Regions from separate parts of the Homo sapiens genome. Here region 1 is linked to region 2. Evidence: promoter capture Hi-C in human tissues and cell types (Jung and others, 2019). All regions are on one chromosome and are shown on one strand. Each heading gives the region's core, a stretch centred on a gene start or on the middle of the fragment in contact. The rest is flanking DNA. Distances are from core to core; before and after follow the strand shown. Region 1 overlaps SETD2 (SET domain containing 2, histone lysine methyltransferase). Region 2 holds the start of SETD2 (SET domain containing 2, histone lysine methyltransferase).

Region 1 (6,797 bases), core at 2,778-5,277, 51 kb after region 2:
CTATTTGAAATGCATGAGTTTTCCTATTTTTCCTAGAACCTAGTATGACTTTAACACTTGAAACTGTTCTGAATCCAAGGCTTAGCTGACCTGGAGTAGGAAATAAGGGCTGAGTTCCAGAATGAGTAGTCTTGAACTCATCTCATCTTCCCCATTTGCCAAGGTTAAGGTTGCCCTTCTCATGTTTTTTTTTTTGTTTGTTTTTTTTTTTTTTTTTTTGGTAATGCAGGTCTTAGGATTTTCAGTCTCACAAGTACTAATAATTAGATGTTTTATTTTGAATGGTTGACTTACAGGAATCATTAAATGTGAATCTAGCCAGGCGTAGTGGATCATGCCTGCGATTGCAGCACTTTGGGAAGTGGAGGCAGGGGAATTTCTTGAGCCCAGGAGTTCAAGACCAGCTTGAGTAACATAGAGAGACCCTGTCTCTACAGAATATTAAAGAACAAACAAACAACAACAATAACAAAAACCAAGCGTGGTGGCATGAGCTGTGGTCCCAGCTATTCAGGAGGTGGAAGTGGGAGGGTCATTTGAATCCAGGAGGTTGAGGCTGCAGTGAGCCATGATCGCATCACTGCACCCTGGCCTGGGTGACAGAACAAGACCCTGTTTAAAAAAACCCAAAAGAATCTAATGAGATTTGGCACATATTTGATTATATATGTTATATCTTTACCAGGAAATTTATTTAATCAGTTTTTATGAAATTTTACCCAATAGAAAGAAGAATAAATCTCATCGAGATATTAAGCGAATGCAGTGTGAGTGTACACCTCTTTCTAAAGATGAAAGAGCTCAAGGTGAAATAGCATGTGGGGAAGATTGTCTTAATCGTCTTCTCATGATTGAATGGTAAGTAAATTAGAATACTCGGCTTTTGCTCAACACTTCTATTAAATGTCTCTAAATATTGAATTATCAATGAAGAATAAAATTTAACCTTTCTCCTACCTATGGATGACTACAAGCAAAAAAGTATAGTAGACACTTTGATGTATAGTAGAAAACATATTAATAGGGAAACAAATATCCCTTGCATTGTGCATTAGATTACAGTACCCACCATGTTTTAAGTGCTTGGTAAAGTAGTCCTATAATATTAATTTCTATTCAGTACTTTTTTATCTTTTATAATATTTATGTCCTAGAGGTAAATGTTGGTATTTTTTAGCTTTCACTATAAAGTGAAATAAAACCCTAACATTTCAGAAATGCATAAAGTGAATGTCTTCTCCCAAACATCAGTCCCATTGTTTTGTCATTTTTCCAGAAAACTTTTAATGCCTATGCTAGCATAGGTAGATGTTTTCCTCTTTTTATGTATACAGATAAAATCTTATTCTATATACTTGCTTGGATTTGCTAATCAGACCTAATCAGAGCTCTGTGTACAGACCTGCCTAAATCTTTCTCTTGACTGCATTATGTATTCTATTCATAGTTAGCCGGTAATTAGTCTGTTGACAGACATTTGCTTCTGTATTGTTCTTATAAATAGTAAATATCTTTACATTAAAAAATTTAATTTTGGCCAGGCGTAGTGGCTCATGCCTGTAATCCCAGCTATTTGGGAGGCTGAGGCGGGCAGATCACTTGAGGCCAGGAGTTTAGGATCAGCCTGGCCAACATGGTGAAACCCCATCTCTACTAAAAAATACAAAAATTAGCCAGGCATGATGACACACACCTGTAATCCCAGCTACTCTGGAGGCTGAGGCAGGAGAAGCACTTGAACCCAGGAGGTGGAGCTTGCAGTGAGCTGTCATTCCACTATACTCCAGCCTGGGTGACAGAGCGAGATGTTGTCTCAAAAAAATTTTTTTAACCAATCTGATTGATGAAAAATATATTCTTGTCTTTTACATGGAAAGAGTATACCTTATTTTTGATGTTAGTGAAGGTTTTTTTTCCCCAAAGCTCAGTTTTTGGTTTTGCTCATGTTATAGTGTTGCAAAAATAAAATATATATACCTTGAAAAAATAAAGAGAAAGGATTTTTGGTATTCTTTTATCCAAACTAGAGAGAGAGATGACAGTACAGATGTAAGAAGAGAAGACATAGAGTTAGCATTATTCTAACTTCATATTGTTGCCCTAGTCATTCTTCTGGGTTTTCCTGCCAACCTTGTGAAGCATACATGAAGAAAAATATTTCTTCATATTATTCACACACTTAAGCTTTTGGTAGTTCTCGGTTGTTCTCATGATTAGGTTCAAACTTAGCCTTGTATTCAGAGCCCTTGGTAGCATATCATCAGCCTGTCTTTTCATCCTCCAGCAACTCACCTTTCTTATCAGTTATCTTTAGTTGTTTCATTTCTCTTTGTCCAAACAGGGATTGTTTTCCTATTTCTGCACACAGACAGGGACAGTTGTATCTCCAGCTTTCTTTATGCATATCCTATGTATCATTAGAGATTCTGCCTTAAATTCTCTTCCCTCCTGAAAGCTTTCCTTTATACTGCCTCACTCTAGAGCAAATCCTTCATCCTTTGACCATTGCTAAAAATGTTATTTGCTGCTGGGTGGGCAATAAATAATAATATATTCAAAATGATTGGTAATTTCCAGTGGTCTTTTTTTTTTTTTTTTTTTTTTGAGACAGTCTCCCTCTGTCGCCCAGGCTAGAGTGCAGTGGCACAATCTTGACTCACTACAACCTCTGCCTCCTGGGTTCAAACAATTCTCCTGCCTCAGCCTCCCAAGTAGCTGGGATTACAGGCGTGCACCATCATGCCCGGCTAATTTTTGTATTTTTCAGAGAGACAGGATTTCACTATGTTGGCGAGGGTGGTCTTGAATTCCTGACCTCAAGTGATCCACCTGCCTTGGCCTCCCAAAGTGCTGGGATTACAGGCATGAATCACCGTACTCAGCCCCCTCTGGTGTAGTTTTAATCATCGTTAAAACCTTTATATCTATCACATATTAAGAAGTCAATCAGTGTTCGATTTTATCATTTTTACTCTAGGATCCATGGGAGAAGAGCCATGCCATGTTATTCTGTTTACTCTGAACAAGGATATATTTAATAATGACTTTAGATTTTCTCAATTGTAGATCAAGTAGTTAGCTGCATTCAAAAAATGAAATTAAAAGTGATTAGAGTAGAAGGAAGGGAAGGTGCACTTACAGAATATAAGTTCTGCAGAGTTGTCAATGTACTGAAAGCTTACATGCAGCCTGAAAATGTATTCTAGACACCTAGGGAGTGGTAGATATTTCTGTGATGACCAGATATCAAGGCTGTATTGTGGGTATGATCTGTTTAAGTAACAATGTAGATACTCAGTTCTAAGGAATCCCTTTGTGATGGAAGGAAAGGAAGACTTAGTTGGGGGTTAGTCATACATATGCTAATTATACCATAAAAGTATGTATATATGTAGTTATACTAACACATTTTTTCAAAGTTACTTTGGTTCTTTTGCTGCTTTAAAGAATTAAATTTCCTCCTTTTCTCATTTCAGTTCTTCTCGGTGTCCAAATGGGGATTATTGTTCCAATAGACGGTTTCAGAGAAAACAGCATGCAGATGTGGAAGTCATACTCACAGAAAAGAAAGGCTGGGGCTTGAGAGCTGCCAAAGACCTTCCTTCGTAAGTTCTTTTTTAATTACCTTTCACTTCCTTTTTTGAGACAAGGTCTCACTCTTTCACCCAGACTGGAGTGCAGTGGCACGATCTTGGCTCACTGGAACCTCTACCTCCCGGATTCAAGCAATTCTCCTGCCTTAGCCTCTCAAGTAGCTGGAACTACAGGCTCATGCCACCATGCCCAGCTAATTTTTTTTGTATTTTTTTGGTAGAGACGTTGTTTCACCATGTTGGCCAGGCTGGTTTCGAACTCTGACCGCAAGTTTTCCGCCCACCTTGGCATCCCAAAGTGCTGGGATTACAGGTGTGAGCCGTCGCGCCTGGGCTTCACTTCATTTTTGTGTTGTTGAACTTAGATGTTTTTGTAGGGAAACAATTTCTTTATTACACTGAGGTTTAATGATGATTATTATGTAGAATGACCACTTGGTAGCTAGTTTGTTGTTAAAAAATCTTTTTTTCTTTTTTGGTAATTATGTTTTCTTTAATTCCAAGCAACTACCAAGTGTTTACTGTGGACCCCCAGAATCTCTATGAAGCTATATAAAAAGAAGTTGGGACAGAATCCATTAGTATACATAAAATTGAGTTGGGATAAGAGTAGAAGAGAAGGCCAGGTGCAGTGGCTCATGCTTGTAATCTCAGCGCTATGGGAAGCTAAGTGGGAGGACTGCTTGAGCCTGGGAGTTCAAGGTTACAGTGAGCTGTGATCACGCCACTGCATTCTAGCCTGGATGGCAGTGATCTCTTGTCTCTTAAAGAAAAAAAAAAAGAGTAGAAGAGAATACCTGAGCATATCAAGGTTAAGAATTAAAACATACTTGATAGATAATCATTAAACATTTCTTGAATGAATAAATGTTGCTTTCCATGTAACTGATGTAAGTTTTTAATGTAATACAGCAAAAGGTTCACTTTATTTTCTACCATATTCAGTATTTCCTGGAAATGTTTAATTTTCTTATATATAGCATATTTAAAGTATTCTTGGCCGGGCATGGTGACTCATGCTTGTAATCCCAGCACTTTGGGAAGCCAAGGTGAGTGGATCACCTGAAGTCGGGAGTTCGAGACCAGCCTGGCCAACATGGCGAAACCCCGTCTCTACTAAAAATACAAAAATTAGATGGGTGTGGTGGCGCACGCCTATAATCCCAGCTACCTGGGAGGCTGAGGTAGGAGAATCGCTTGAACTTGGGAGGTGGAGGTTGCAGTGAGCCGAGATCATGCCACTGCCCTCTAGCCTGGGAGACAGAGCAAGACTCCATCTCGAAAACAAACAAAAAACCCAAAATTACGCTGGACGTGGTGGTTCACGCCTGTAATCCCAGCACTTTGGGAGGCCGAGGTGGGCAGATCACCTGAGGTCAGGAGTTCAAGACCAGCCTGGCCAATGTGGTGAAACCCTGTCACTACTAAAAATACAAAAATTAGCTGGATGTGGTGGCAGGCACCAATAATCCCAGTTACTTGAGGGGCTGAGGCAGGAGAATCTCTTGAACCGGGGAAGCGAAGGTTGCAGTGAGCCGAGATTGCGCCATTGTACTCCATCCTGGGTGACAAGAGTGAAACTCTGTCTCAAAAAACAAAACAAAAATTAGCCAGGCATGATGGCGCACAGCTGTAATCCCAGCTACTCGGGAGGCTGAGGCAGAAGAATTTGCTTGAACCCACGAGGAGGAGGTTGCAGTGAGCCGAGATCATGGCACTGCATTCCAGCCTGGGGGACAGAGCGAGACTGTCTCCAAAAAAAAAAAAAAAAAGTATTCTTAATGAAGGTCAAGTGCCTCTTTGAAGTTAAATATAAACAGATTACATGTGTTTATGGTTGAAACATTTAAAAAATATATAAAAGAAAAAATGGAAGGAAATAAAACATTTGCTGGATTCTAGTAACTTAGACATAACTATTCTTTCAGAACCCTCTGAGCATATGGCCACAGTTGGATGGGAGTTGGAGTTGGGGCAGGACTTGGTGGGGTTTAATCTGTTTATTGTGGGAATTCAAAACACAGGTAATAAAGACAATAATTTTTTTTTCTCACTGTTTTCCCCTTGGCAATAATTTAGTTTTATGACAGGAATCCTCATATATCTTTTGATAAGCAAATTGTTCTTTTTTTTTTTTTCCTTTGAAGATAAGAAATGATGTTGATATTAATCTATCCTTTTGGGAACCAATCAGAAAGCAACATGTTTTGTTACACAAAAAGGGGGCTAGTAGGAACCTCATAGATTTCTCTTCTCCTCTAAGTTTTGTAAAAACACACCCTGGCTCATAACTGGTTTTTATTGTTTTTTATTTTTTTGAGACAGGGTCTTGCCCTGTCACCCTCGCTGGAGTATCCTGGCGCAATCATAGCTCACTGCAGTGTCGACCTCCCAGGCTCAATTTATCCTCCTGCCTCAGCCTTCTGAGTAGCTGAGACTATAAGTGTGAGCCAGTATGCCCAGCTACTTTATTTTTCTATTTTTTGTAGAGATGGGGTCCTCACTATGTTGCCTAGGCTTCTCATAACTGGTTTTTAATTGTTTATTTGAAGCAAATATCCCACAGAATTGTCATATGCCCCATATCCATTCATTGGATTCTTTATAATATTTTAAACAAATAATTGGTTACACTTCCTTTGAACACTGTTGATACAGAACTCAATACCTCTCAAAGCAGCCCATTGAATTTCCAAAATCACTAGTTCTAGTCCAGACGCACATTTTCAAAGATGCCTTCTTTCATTCTGCCCTAGCCAGCCAGGCCTTCTTGAGATTTTTTTTTTTTTTTTTTTTTTTTTTTTTTTTAAAGGAACCACAGTTTGGACACAAGCCTCTCTTACAGGGACAATAGTGGATGAGCTGTCTGGATGCTGGTCTTTTGTGGTATCTGCAGTAAAACACATAGCTTCAAACCTGATCTAAATTCTGTTACTTGCAACAGACACTCTTTGATAGCTCAGTGCTCTTCTCATATTAAGGGGAAAGGAGACTGGGGAAGGGAGGAAAGGATATATGGCTCCAGTTTATAAGCCAGGTTAAAATTTCCTAAAGCTCTTCCGTTTTCTTCAGCTATTCACAGAGAACCCTGCTTTGGTAAAATATACTAGGACTTAATGTTTCCATGTTTCCCATACCTTCCTACTCCTATAACTGCCACATGATGATGTGTAATACCAATAGTTTATGAATTTCATAAACTAG
Region 2 (7,142 bases), core at 3,574-6,073:
TGTATAGGAAAAACAACTACAGAGTATAATAATACTATGTAGGAGGGTGCTGACTTGATACAAATAACATCTAATAGGAATTATAGGAGGTGGAGCTCAATGTAGGTTGTGCATTGTTTTCTAGATTCTTCTTGCCTTGTGTTGGGATGTGCAGAATGAATAGGAATAAAAATAAGTTGTAATTAGGCTGGGTGCGGTAGCTCATGCCTGTAATCCCAGTACTTTGGGACGCCAAGGTGGGTGGGTCACAAGGTCAGGAGATCGAGACCATCCTGGCTAACACGGTGAAACCCCATCTCTACTAAATATCCAAAAAATTAGCCGGGCATGGTGGCGGGTGCCTGTGGTCCCAGCTACTTGGGAGGCTGAGGCAGGAGAATGGCATGAACCCGGGAGGCGGAGCTTGCAGTGAGCTGAGATCGCACCACTGCACTCCAGCCTGGGCGACAGAGCGAGACTCCATCTCAAAAAAAAAAAAAAAAAAAAAAAAAAAAAGTTGTAATTACAGTAGTCCCCACCTTATCTACAAGGGATAGGTCCCAAGACCCCTGGTGGATGCCTGGAACCCTAAATATACTTTGTTTTTTCCTATACATACATACTTATGATGTTTAATTTATAAATTAGGCACACTAAGAGATTAACAGTAGTTAATAAAACAGTTATAACAATATAACAAAACTTATGTGAATGAGTAATTTATTCTAAATTATGCTGCCTTTATTCTGTATACTGACTAAATCTAAATCTTCAATTGTATTGAGCCTCATATATCTACCTAAATTTATAAGGTAGCCAATTTTTTGTTGTATGGCTATTAGTTTACAGGCATTAGGTACTTTGTCAGACATTATCTCATTTCCCGCTCCCCAAAATGCTAAGATGTTGATAGTAAATGTTTCTGTGCTACAGAGGAGAAAATACATATTTATTTATTTTATTCATTTTTTTTGTTTGAGACTGAGTCTCACTCTTGTTGCCCAGGCTGGAGTGCAGTGATGCGATCTCTGTTCACTGCAACTTCCACCCCCCACCCCGGGCTCAAGCAATTCTCCTGCCTCAGCCTCCCGAGTAGCTGGGATTATAGGCGTGCGCCACCATGCCTAGCTAATTTTTGTATTTTTAGTAGAGATGGGGTTTCACCGTATTGGCCAGGCTGGTCTTGAACTCCTGACCTCAAGTGATCTGCCTTCCTCGGCCTCCCAAAGTGCTGGGATTATAGGCATGAGCCACTGTGCCCGACCTACATTTCTTTTTTTTTTTGAGATGGAGTTTTGCTGTTGTTGCCTAGGCTGGGGTGCAGTGGCGCGATCTTAGCTCATCATCGCAACCTCCGCCTCCCAGAGTTCAAGCGATTCTTCTGCCTCATCCTCCAGAGTAGCTGGGATTACAGGCATGTGCCACCACATCCGGCTAATTTTGTATTTTTAGTAGAGACCAGGTTTCTCCATGTTGGTCAGACTGGTCTCGAACTCCTGACTTCAGGTGATTCGCCTGCCTTGGCCTCTCAAAGTACTGGGATTACAGGCGTCAGCCACCGCACCCGGTCTACATTTCTTCTTTCTACTACCCTTACCAGGTACCCGAAGCCTACCTGTGGAGAGTAGGCTTTTGGCCTTTGTCTTCCCTAAGGCAAGAGATGATTTTGTTTCAGGGTCACTACTGGCAACCCTGGAATCTCCTGGGATAGGGTTGGTCTTGACCCACAGGAGACAGTAACAGTAGGAGAAAGTATAAATATATATATATTTTTTTGAGATGAGTTTCGCTCTTGTTGCCCAGGCTGGTGTGGAATGGCATGATCTCGGCTCACTGCAACCTCCGCCTCCCAGGTTCAAGTGATTCTCCTGCCTCAGCCTCCCTAGTAGCTGGTATTAGACATGTGCCACCACGCCGGGCTAATTTTTGTATTTTTAGTAGAGACCGGGTTTCTCCATGTTGGTTAGGCTGGTCTTGAACTCCCAGCCTCAGGTGACCCACCTGCCTCAGCCTCCCAAAGTGATGGGATTACAGGCATGATCCCATCACACCCAGCTGAAATTATAAAGGCTTTTACGATTTTAGCACTCTGGGAGTGAATGCCTCAAATATTTCATGCTAGGGCTTTTTAGACATTTTTCCTTTAAACATGTGCAGAAAGTAGGGGATGGTCAGTATTTAATAACATGAAAAACCAAATTATTCCACAGCTTTGATCAGGAGGCCAGGCCCAAGTACGTGCTCCAAGCATGCATTCTCTTTGACTTAAAAATATGAGTCCAAAGAACTCTGAGTGCAGTTATAGATGAAGGCACTGCCTGTAAAAACCCAGTTCATTTGTTTCTGTTTGGGGCTTAGAATTCTCACTGATTCCCATGGCTTGACAAGCTTATTGCACTGGGTTCTGACCAAACCAATGCTATCATGAGACCAGGCATTCCAGTGCCCAGCTGTACCTCCTGCAAGAGAATTGCTTACTTTCTTATTAAGGAAATAGGAAACCTGCACCTGACTGCTTTTTTCTCATTCACCTCAGCTTAGGTCCTTACCACCTCACATTGTTTCAACCACCTCCACCTAAAATTGTCCTTTCCTGCCTGTCCAAGGTCAAGTGACTCCCAATTGCCTATGTGGCATCTAAGGCACAGGGCCTCAATCTATTCTTTCAAAGCCCAAAAGATAACACTTACTGGGCACTTACTCAATGAAAGGCACTGTGCAAGCATGTTCACAACATTCTCTGCACAGTGGCTAATACCCCATTTACAGGTGAGGCACGGGAAGCATAAGAAGCAAGCATCCCAATGTCACAGGGCTAGAAAGTGCCTGGTACACAATGCCAGGTAGAGCTACCTCTTAAACTCTGCACTATCATGGCTGAAGAATGCTGACGTTTACTGAAAGTTTAAGCCTTTAACAAATAGCTCATTTAATCCTCACAATAATGAGAAGACCTGTCGGCAGCAATATTCTCATTTTATAATGAGAAAAACCACAGGGAAATTAGTAATAATCACGGTGTGTAAAAAAATGGCCTTGGGAGATTCGAACCTAGGGAGTCAGATGGACCCTGGACCTCCATGCTAACCCTAAAGGTACCAGGAAAAAAAAAAACAAAAGCCAAAATAATCCCTAAGTGAAAAACAATGATTATAAAACACTAATAGACACTGTAGCCTACATACATATAAAGGCTATTTTAAAAAGTTAACCACTGAAGGATGTTTATTCTTTCGTATCATATTTCAGTTTTTTTTTGTTGTTGTTGTTTTATTTTTTTGAGACGGAGTCTCGCTATATCGCCCAGGCTGGAGTGCAATGGTGCGATCTGGGCTCACTACAACCTCCGCCTCCTGGGTTCAAGCGATTCTCCTGCCTCAGCCTCCCGAGTAGCTGGGATTACAGGCGCACCACCACGCCCAGCTAATTTATTTTTTATTTTCATTCATTTATTTATTTTTTTGAGATGGAGTCTTGCTCTGTCGCCAGGCTGGAGTGCAGTGGCACAATCTGGGCTTACTGCAACCTCCGCCTCCTGGGTTCAAGCGATTCTCCTGCTTCAGCCTCCCGCGTACCTGGAATTACAGCCGTGCGCCACCACGCCCGGCTAAATTTTGTATTTTTAGTAGAGATGGGGTTTCGCCATGTTGGCCAGTGTGGTCTGGAACTCTTGACCTCAGTTACTCCGCCCGCCTCGGCCTCCTAAAGTGCTGGGATTACAGGCGTGAACCACCGCGCCCGGCCCACTTTCAGTTTTTAACCACTGTTTCTCAATTGGAAGACACATCCTTTCCTTTCCGTTACCAATTGCTGGTAAAATCCGATTCAAAATTCTAGTGGAAAAACAACAGCAACAACAACACAAAAAACGCTAACCCTATGAACCCCCAATGTCAAAATGATCTATCGCCAAAAACTCTTCAGCGTCTAGAAAGTTTAGCTATTGGATTTACGCGTTCCTATCTCTCCTTCCAAAAATAACAACTCGTAGCTCTTTCAAGTTATTCTACTTAGTCTCATCTTATCATTTCTGTAGGAAAGTGATTAATACCCTTTTTTTCATGACATTGCCTCTAAGGCCCCAAGAACCACACAGGAGAGGGGAGCTGCCGCCTTGGAGACTTCGGGTGGGGGCAGAGCGCCGCGCCGAGGTGGAGGTAGGAGCCCCGAGGGCACAGCGGGAAGGAAGGCGGAGGAGGCTGCCGGGAGCTCGGCCTCCGAGCAATCCCCCGCCTCGCTGGGCTTCCATGCTTGCTAAAGGGTCGAGATGAACGGGCAAGGGAGAGAGAGGGCGAGGAAAAATAAAAAAGAGAGGGGCGAGTGGGACGAGGGGCCCGGGAGCAGCCGCGGCCGCGTTACCTCAGAGCCCAGAGGCCTGGGGGAGGGGCCCTCGGCGCTGCCGCGGACTCCGGGGCTCCCGGCGGGCAGGTCCTGCAGGGCCGCGGAGCGAGAAGGCTGATGTCTCGGGTGTCTCGGGGAGTTCTCCCGACGTCGCCTGCTGTTTGTCAGTCGCCAGCTGTGACACGGTAGCGGGCCGGGTCACGCTGCCCCCGGCCGCCAGGCGGGTTGCGGGAGGGGTCGCGGTGCCGCCTCTCCAGGTCCGGTCTGGCCCACATCACTGGGGCCGGGGGTTTATTGTTCCGGAGAGCCACAGGCACGGTCGGCCTGGACCCGCCGGGCAGTGTTCCGCTCTGCCCGTCCCGGCCTGGGGTCAAGCCAACAGCTGCAAGGCACGCCGACTGGCGGCAGATCGGTGGCCCGTGTGTGTCTCTTTAAGGGGCCGGGCCTGCGAAGCTGAGGGGCGGGTGGGGTGTGCGTCGCTCCCGGTGTGAGGGTGAGAGGGAGAGAGCGGCTGGCGGGCGTCCGAGGGAGGGAGGGAGCGACGAGCGAGGTAGCGACGCGGGCCGCCCCTGCCGCCGCCGCCGCCGCCGCCGCCGCCGCCGCGGTCGGACCTGCGGCCTCCTCCCCTCCCCTCCCCCGCGTCGCCCTGCTGCGGGGAGGGGGCTCGCGTCGCCGTCTCCAGCCGCTCCCGATGAAGCAGCTGCAGCCGCAGCCGCCTCCGAAGATGGGGGATTTCTACGACCCGGAGCACCCGACCCCTGAGTAAGTATCAGCTCCGCGGCCCCCCGCTGCTGTCGGCCGCCTTATCCCCAGCCGAGGGCGGCGCGTCCTGACGGGTGGCGGCGCGGGCCGGCGCGAGGAGTAACAGGCCCACGGTGGCCTCGCGCGGTCGGTGTCGGGAGCAGGCCCGCGCCGCCACTTCGAGCCGCTTGGCCGGGGCCGCAGCAGGCCCGCGGTTGGGCCCGGCGTTGGCGCCGCTGCTCGTGTCGCGGCGGCGGTTGGGCCGGGCCGGTGGGGGAGGGGCGGCCACGGTCCCTACGGTTACCGCCGTGTCCGCACCGACCCGGCCATCCCGGGGCTCGGCGGTCCTCTCGGGCTCCTCGTGGCTCGTCCGGGCCCCGCTGCTAGCCAAAGGGCAGAGTCGGAGGAGCTGCCGGTGCCGGGCCCGGCAAGAGGGCGCCGGTGAGGGTAGGCCGCGAATCCCCGGGCTCGGGTGGAAGCTCGACCCGTCGCCCGACCTCCCCGCGACGGCGGCGCCTCGGACCGGAAGGGCCTAGCGCGGGTTGCCTGGCCCCCGGGCCGTGGAGGGGCCCGCGCTGCACTCCTGAGTTTGATTTTTTCCTCCTGGGAACTCGATCCTGGCCTTGCAGTGCTTCCGGATTCACATTGTGCACCTTTGGCACTTGGGTTTTGTAATGGCGAGGTTTGTGTGGTCCCGTTGTTGAGGTGACACCGGGTTTGTTTTTCCGCTTGAAAATGAAAGCCTCCTGAGGGACATACATTTTCTTGCAGGTTGTGAGATTTTCACACTTTCGGACACAATTTTCTTGGTAACAGGAATCTCTTACCCTAAACGGATGACTTTCTATTTCTTGTGAAGACTTGGTTAAAAACCAAGAATCGTTTGAGGATTCTCTAAAGAAGACAATGTTGTGGAAAACCGACACACAGTTTTGCCCAATAGTAATTTTTCAGTCTAGGACACCTTTACATTTCTCTTGAGGTCTGAATCTGCTGCTGTATCTGCTATCTCAGAAAGCCTGGAGTCACTTCTTTCCCTGAACCCTCACGAGACCATTGTTTTGAAAAGCCGTTCTTAAACACCGTTTGCTGGTGTTAGACCTAGGAATATACTATTGATTTAAAACTTATCGGTTGATAGGGGTTTCACATGAAACTGTCAAACTTTTATGACCAGGATGATTCCAAGAGCTTTGCTGTTTTGACACATTTTACCTTAGGTTTGCTCTGGCTCGTTTTTGAATCCCTTGCCACATCTTCTCACATTGGTCCAGAAATGTCTGGATCTTAATTGATAGTTTTGATTGCAACACAAACGGATTCTGTTGAGGTGTTGGTCATTTCTGCACAACAAGATAAATCATTATTTTGCTTTTCTAAAAACCCAACTCTTACTTGCAATAGTAAGTTAACATGGCTTTTTCCTTTCATGGGTTCTTGGCCATTGGTTAACATTACCTTAATTAGATTGGTCTTTTTGTTTTGCTACTGGCAGGGTCAGTTAGGTAAGATTGTTTTGATTTACTGCACCATCAGTCCAATTACAAAGCTCATGTTATAGGTTTTTAGTTTGAAAAACCTCAAAAAAAATTTTATATCACGATTCAATAAATGCTTATATAGCACTTGCTCTGTACAAAGTAACATGCTAACCCCTGAATAGGCTAAGTGCCTGCTTTCACTTCCTTTTACCAGGTTGTTTGGTGAAGTCCGGAAGCTTTAAGGATCACATCCTTACACTTCTTGGGGAAAAACAATTTTTCATAATATGTGGGAAAATGGACTCAGAAGTGCATCTTTGGTAGACCTGAGTGGGGAAGGAATCAAGAATGTTTTATGGTTTTACATGTTTTGGAGTTTTTATTTTTATTGCTTTAATGTAGTAGAAATCCACTGCTTTGGATTTCTAACAGTGATTATATATTTTTAAATTCTCGTGTATTTTTTCCTTTTTTTTTTTTTTAGAGGCAGGGTCCCACTCTGTCACCCAGGCTGGAGTGCAGTGGTGTCATCATGGCTCATTGCATCCTTGAACCTCTGGGCTTAAGCAGTCCTCCTGCCTCAGCCTCCTGGGTTGGGAC

What was found. The method cuts DNA at HindIII sites, captures the fragments that hold promoters and counts their contacts. A contact is called where the count stands out against the background at its distance.
Region 1: a fragment that was not itself captured here is called in contact with the fragment with the promoter of SETD2 in region 2 in 2 of the 25 tissues and cell types used here (aorta and psoas muscle).

The regions. Positions count from the first base shown.
Region 1 is chr3:47,110,684-47,117,480 of GRCh38, reverse strand. It overlaps SETD2 (SET domain containing 2, histone lysine methyltransferase), which reads left to right. Exons shown (of 21, transcript NM_014159.7): 4 at 727-858; 5 at 3,477-3,605. Among named protein-coding and RNA genes, the nearest start is that of SETD2, 50 kb to the left of the region's middle. RefSeq lists enhancers at 2,755-3,263, 3,264-3,771. The HindIII fragment of the contact is 3,414 bases long and covers 2,321-5,734 here.
Region 2 is chr3:47,161,794-47,168,935 of GRCh38, reverse strand. SETD2 (SET domain containing 2, histone lysine methyltransferase) reads left to right here and starts at 4,823. Exons shown (of 21, transcript NM_014159.7): 1 at 4,823-5,082. The coding sequence starts at 5,012. KIF9-AS1 (KIF9 antisense RNA 1) reads right to left here and starts at 4,566. Exons shown (of 7, transcript NR_033373.1): 1 at 4,339-4,566. RefSeq lists silencers at 4,321-4,370, 4,421-5,170, 5,221-5,530. The HindIII fragment of the contact is 7,701 bases long and covers 1,097-7,142 here.